Regions from separate parts of the Homo sapiens genome. Here region 1 is linked to region 2. Evidence: promoter capture Hi-C in human tissues and cell types (Jung and others, 2019). All regions are on one chromosome and are shown on one strand. The core of a region is centred on a gene start or on the middle of the fragment in contact, and the rest is flanking DNA. Distances in the headings are between cores, read along the strand shown. Region 1 overlaps HIVEP2 (HIVEP zinc finger 2). Region 2 holds the start of ADAT2 (adenosine deaminase tRNA specific 2).

Region 1 (3,254 bases), core at 68-2,567, 660 kb after region 2:
CAAAATTATTAATTCTTCATTTTTTACTTCTTTACTCATTCAATCAATTTCTGAAATAGGGTTAGATAAATAAACTTTGAATAAGAGGAAGTAGTGTGGATAATGGAAAATAATTGACTTGACAGTTTAAAGACCTAAGCTGTAGACCAGAACTATCATAATGAGCTGTGGGTCCCTAAGCAAGTCTTTTGACTTCTCTGGTTCTCACCTTTTTCATTTGTTAGTTGCCTGATAGATTAAATTCAATGGTTTCTAAATTATTCCATAGCCCTAAACACTGCCTATATGATTTAGAATAAGCTAAACATTTAAATAGTAATAGAAGTTTGTAGTCATATATTTGCTCCTAAAATCAAGTTAGTCAGATATATGACTTACGTGATGTCAAATTGGGTCAAGAAAACAAACCTAGGTTATAGCTCTTATCTTAGAAAACATGACGTGTGTTTTAAGGACACATGTTGGGAGAAGTTTGCATGGCCAATACCAGATGAGCACAGCCAAGATGCAGAATGACTGGAGAACACTATATGATCCTGAACCATCAAAGGAAGATTAAATTATGGTTAGTAGACTGTAATTAACTCAAGGCAAAAGCTAGTGTACTTTTGAAAATAAATTACCACCAGATGTTTAACAAAAAATGATTTTCTCTGTGGTCTTTACCTAACCATAAGATTGTATTAACTAGAACACCTTATTCCCCAAGCATCCTCATGAACCAACATTCCATCACACAAAATAAAGTATATATAATCATAGAGAAACCGGAATGGTAGAGTCTTGTATTTTTATTTCATCTGACAAATGTATTTGTCTCTAAATCTAACATTGATAACTGTGCATTTCTGTATATTAGCATATATAGTTTTATTTAAATATTAAGTTCAGTGTCGTTACATCTAGAAAGCCTTTTCTAACTTTCCAGAAAGGAGTGACCATTCCCTCTTGTAATCTCCTTTGTAATCTGTTTATATTTATGTCATTTGTTGAACTAATTCACAAATATCTCCCCGCTGAAGCTCTGAGCTCTTCGTTTGTTTGTTTGTTTTGTTTGTTTGTTTGTTGTTGTTGTTTTTCGAGATGGAGTCTTGCTCTGTTACCCAGACTGGAGTGCAGTGGTGTGATCTTGGCTCACTGCAACCTCTGCTTCCCGGGTTCAAGAGATTTTCCTGCCTCAGCCTCCTGAGTAGTTGGGATTACAGGTTCCAGCCACCACACCCGGCTAATTTTTGTATTTTTAGTAGAAACAGGGTTTCACCATGTTGGCTAGGCTGGTCTTGAAGTCGTGACCTCAAGTGAGCTGCCCGCCTGGGCCTCCCAAAGTGCTGGGATTACAGGTGTGAGCCACCATACCCAGCCAGCTCTGTGCTCTTAAATGCAATGCTTGTCTTTTCTTTTTCTGTATTGTGTAAATACAGCCCATTTCTGGCATATCGTAGGCATTCAGTAAATGTCTTTTTTTTGAGGGGGGGATTTTTTTTTATTATACTTTAAGTTTTAGGGTACATGTGCACAATGTGCAGGTTTGTTACATATGTATACATGTGCCATATTGGTGTGCTGCACCCATTAACTCGTCATTTAACATTAGGTATAAGTAAATGTCTTAAAGTATCATAGAATAATCAGAAATCCTATTTAAAGAGGCCTAAGTTACAATCTCTAATGCACATGTATCTGCTTTTTTTGTTTGTTTTCACTAGTTTTAATTTACACAATGCTTTGTTTCCTATCTTTTCTGTGCTCCTGCACTACCTGCTGAGAATCAGCAATAGACCATATGTAGCTTTGGTGTCATTTTTATGGGCAGTTTCTGGCTAATTTGGACTCAGTTTGCCCCAGCCTCCTATTATGAAAACTCTGTGGGAATCCTTCCTTCCATGCACCTTCTTGACTTTTCAAAACCTTCTACATTGTTGTCCCAGTAATGAATTGCCCCATGTTCCAAAACTACTATGTTTCTCTTTTCCTAGTCATGTCCCTTTAATATGTTTTCTTTTTTACATTTCAACCCCAACCTCATCCATTACCTTTATATCAAAAATATTTCTGAAGATCTAAGCTTATAGTCATCATCCTGTCAATGTATGTGTGTGTGTGTATGTGTGTTGTCTATCCTGTACCTGCCTTCTCTAGTCCTTCGCAGCCTCTTCTTCCTTTGCCACTTTACGCACTCCAGAGTGGAACAATGGGCCCATTTAGAGTCTTTTTTTTTTTTTTTTTGTAGAGAGGAAAAGATGCCTCTACAAAAAGCTTGTGAAATTGATGGATTATATCTTGAACATTGATATCTCTTTCAGTGCTCTTCTCCCATCTTTAGTCACTACTTTTGAATCTTTTCTATTCCCTACTATAAGAGTAAAGTGTCTCTTCTCTAGTGAAGAGTAGTGTTCATTCTTTTAAACATGTAATACTTAAACACTCTTTTTACTGAGAAATAAAACTATCATATCTTGTTTCCAGTTTCTATTTGCCATTTTTCCATTGAGTTTATAAGAATTATTTTCATTGATGTTGTTTTTATTTATTTATTTATTTATTTTTGAGACGGGGTCTCACTCTATCCCCCAGACTGGTGCAATTATAGCTCACTGCAGCGCCAAACTCCTGGGTTCAAATGATCTTCTTACCTCAGCCTCCCAAGCAGCTGGGACTACAGATGTGCACCACCACACCTGCTTAAATTTTTTTTTATAGAGATAGGGTCTTGCTTTGTTGCCCAGACTGGTCTCAACCTCCTGGTCTTAAGCAATCCTCCCAAAGTGCTGGGATTACAGGTGTGAGCCACTACATCCAGCCAATAATTATTGTTTTTAATTATGACAATGCTCATCTAAAGTGTAACTGGTTTACCTTATCAGCTCTTCTCCTAAAATTGTGATATAGTGTGTATTTATTTAACCTCAGAAAAAACAAGGGTGATGGGAGGTACTTGAGAGTTCTGCCAATGAAACCTTCACCTCTTGCTAGATTCATGTAAGAGTCATATTAAAGCATTAACTGTAACTTGTTTTGAAACAATTTGGAAAAGTAGAGAATGGAAAAAGACAACCCCACTAACAATGGGTATTTTTAAAATGTCTATCTTATCTGTCATCTATGAATCAGTAGCTTGACTCTTGCTTAGCTTAATAGTAATAACCTATAAGCATCCAACAACAAGTAACTAATGCCAAGGATTTTTTTTCTTCTAAGAATGGGAAGGCTGAGAAACCACTGGGATAGAAACAGTAATACTCAAATCTTCCAAG
Region 2 (3,160 bases), core at 151-2,650:
AATTTCAAATTGTTTGGGGAGAACAGAATACAATCTAATACTAAGAGAAAAGCCAACCAAATTCTTTGGGAAACTCTGTTCTTGATTTTAAGTACTTTTGTAAACATAGCATGTAATAAGTGATGAGACTATTTCTCAAAAACTCAAGTTCTAACAAATTTCCTCTTTTATAGTTCCTAGATGTCCTTTTCATATAATTCACAAAACTTTTATTCCCTCCTTCAAATCCCTGAATATTATCACATGAGCATTGTATGAGGGAAAAGCGTCTCAAGATTTTTATCTTATCTGTTTCTAAATCTCCTCTGGGCCTGTGCAACTCAGTTATGTCAGCTAGATTACAATGATCCCAACCTTGAAGATCCTGAGGAAGATTGCACAACATCCCTCAAGCATTTTTCTTACTGCCATAGTTTGTATTCTAAAATGGCAGAAACAGAGCTAAAATATTGATTTGTTTTTCTTTATCTAATCCATATCTTTCAGTCCTTTAGGACAACTGCGCTGTTTTCAAAAATTCAAATCGACTTTAACCACCACCCGAAGTGCAGCCTATAGGTAACTTCCCTAGATTATTATTAAACTCCTGAGAAGGGTGAGAGCCAAAGTATCAAGAGTGCCAAGGAGAAATGCAGAATCTCACAGGAAAGCAGAATTTTTTTTAAAAAGTTCCTGTAAGAGAATGGTGCCTTGAAACAGAAACTTAAACTGTGATGAGTTCTCCAAAGGTCCGTGAGAAAAAAGGATAGGTGAGAAACAGAGTTAAGAGTCGGTGACAGGGCAAAGGGCACAGAGGCATTTCTCAACTGCAGAGATGGGAGAACCCTGGAGGTTGGCCACCTCCCTTTTCATCCCATGGTTGATCGAACTCCCTCTACATATCCCAGACTAGGATCGCCCGGCCTGTCCTTATTTTAGAAGAAGTCACCTCTCCCACCCCCTTCTCCCAATGCCCCCTTTCAAGCACGTTGTCACCCACCTCCAAGGACCGTGCCCAGGAAGATGCATTTCTTTTTGTGGCGTTTCAGAAAATTCCATACAGACCTCAGCATCTTTAGGCCCTAGGGGTGTGGGCTGACTAGGGGTGAGGGACTGCTTCACCAGGAAACTGTTTCTTCGTCACCTGGCCCAGATGACCCAGCAAGAGCGCCGTCGTCCCGTTCTGTGCTCTCCCGAAATCACAAACGTGACTTTCCGCAGAGACTGTCACCGGAGCGGCAAGGGGGCGTGGACTACAGCAAAGCAGCTACGCTTTCTGCCGCTGCCGCCGCGCAGCCGCCGCCGCTCACTGGTCCGACAAGCCCAGGTCCGTTCAGAAATAGCTCCCGAGTGCCTTTTCATTAGACTACCCCCGGAAACGGGGTCCCGGGCCCGCCGCGTTCCGCTGCCCGCGCTCCTCCTCTGCCGCGGGCTCTGTAGCTGAGTGGTGGCTGGGTATGGAGGCGAAGGCGGCACCCAAGCCAGCTGCAAGCGGCGCGTGCTCGGTGTCGGCAGAGGAGACCGAAAAGTGGATGGAGGAGGCGATGCACATGGTGAGGAGCCCGGGAGGTAGATGCTGCGGGGTGGGACCTTTCTCCAGCCCTCAACCCGACCCCGGCATTTGAGCAAACGTTCTTTCTCGTCACCATAATTTTTATGGCAGTCAGATGTTCTGGGTGAACAACTGGCTTTACTGCCTCGAAACTTTCTGTAGCCCATTCTCACAGTGGCTCTGGGCGAAGGAAGGGGAGGAAATACACAAATTATTTGTTTCATTGCGGTGGAGTATGCTGCAGACTTAACATTCTGTCGCCGGCTGGCACGTGCTGCCTCCCTTTCCTTTCTGTGGTCACACACTCTCCAATCTACAAAGTCACATTATTTGAGGTTTTGGCCCTTGGAACATGTCCAGCAGAAGGAAGGAAACTGAGAACGTTTCTGGTAGAGAGCAGTATGGAAACAAGTCCCTGTACAATCGGCGTCTCGCATTCATTCATTATTTCCTCTGCCCTTTTACTTCCTTCCCTCACTCCCTTCAGGACTGCGAAATAAAGGGGGCTTTCAACAGAATGCTGTGTGCTAGCGAGCTTCTTAACTGGGAAAAAAAGTTTGTTTGTAAATATATGTATTTACATTTTAATAACTACATACAGCCACGTGCCACACAATGACCTGTCGGTAAAGGTCGTTATCCTGGAGCATTAAATCTACTCACCTTAGCCCTATTGTCCCATCCAAGTACTAACCAGGCCTGACCCTGCTTAGCTTCCGAGATCGGGGGACATTCAGGGTGGTATGGAGGTAGACAACCCTAGTTTCTATGTAGACTTCTGGGCTAAACACTTTCGCTACCTTTTAGGTTGACCCTGGGCTAGCACATGTAAATACATTTACATACGTTTACAAACAAACTTTTATCCCAGTTAAGAAGCTCGCTAGCACTTTTCAGCTCCATTATAATCTTATAGGACCACATATACAGCGGTGGTGCTATAGGATTATAATGAAGCTGAAAAGTTCCTGTTGCCCAGTGACATGTAGCCCTCCTAACAAGTACTTTTTTTCCTTTAAGACCTTGAAGAAACTTGTATATGCTAAAACCCAAGAAGCAGCTGCCTCCTTAATCCTGTGTAGGAGGACGTAAACTATGGAATCACATCCCTAGGTGTTTATAATACAATTAAGAGACAAAAAATGTCAAAGCCAGAGAGGTCTAGAAATTCTTTGAAAACATCTACATGTTTAAAAAGATACAAAGTAGCATGGCCAGATGCAGTGGCTCATGCCTGTAATCCCAAAACTTTGGAAGGCAGAAGCAAGAGGATCTCTTGATCTCAAAAGTTGAAGAACAGCCTGGGCAACTTAGCCAGACCCCGTCACTACTAAATAAAAATTTAAAAATTAGTAGGGCATGGTGGCATGTGCCTGTAGTCCCAACTACTCAGGAGGCTGAGGAAGGTGGATTGCTTGAGCCTTGGGAGATTGAGGTCGCAGTGAGCCGTGTCTGTGCCACTGTACTCCAACCTGGGAGACAGAGCCAGACCCTGTCTCAAAAAAGAAAAAGATACAAAGTAAAGGAAATACAAAGAAGGAAAATATTTGCGACATATATAAAAGGACAGGTTTAATAACCGTAGCATATAATTTATATAAAATCTAAGTACTTTCCGACGTAAAAGGA

The links. Contacts are between HindIII fragments. The study calls those that stand out against the background at their distance.
Region 1: a contact is called between a fragment that was not itself captured here and the fragment with the promoter of ADAT2 in region 2, in 1 of the 25 tissues and cell types used here (IMR-90 fibroblasts).

What each region holds. Positions count from the first base shown.
Region 1 is chr6:142,786,539-142,789,792 of GRCh38, reverse strand. The region is part of intron 2 of HIVEP2 (HIVEP zinc finger 2); the gene reads left to right. Among named protein-coding and RNA genes, the nearest start is that of HIVEP2, 160 kb to the left of the region's middle. The HindIII fragment of the contact is 5,668 bases long and covers 1-3,254 here.
Region 2 is chr6:143,448,935-143,452,094 of GRCh38, reverse strand. ADAT2 (adenosine deaminase tRNA specific 2) reads left to right here and starts at 1,400. Exons shown (of 6, transcript NM_182503.3): 1 at 1,400-1,532. The coding sequence starts at 1,437. It overlaps PEX3 (peroxisomal biogenesis factor 3), which reads right to left and starts at 1,290. Exons shown (of 12, transcript NM_003630.3): 1 at 980-1,290. The coding sequence starts at 1,052. It also overlaps the pseudogene RNA5SP221. RefSeq lists enhancers at 1,450-1,609, 1,412-2,394 and silencers at 2,150-2,229, 2,290-2,369. The HindIII fragment of the contact is 11,275 bases long and covers 1-3,160 here.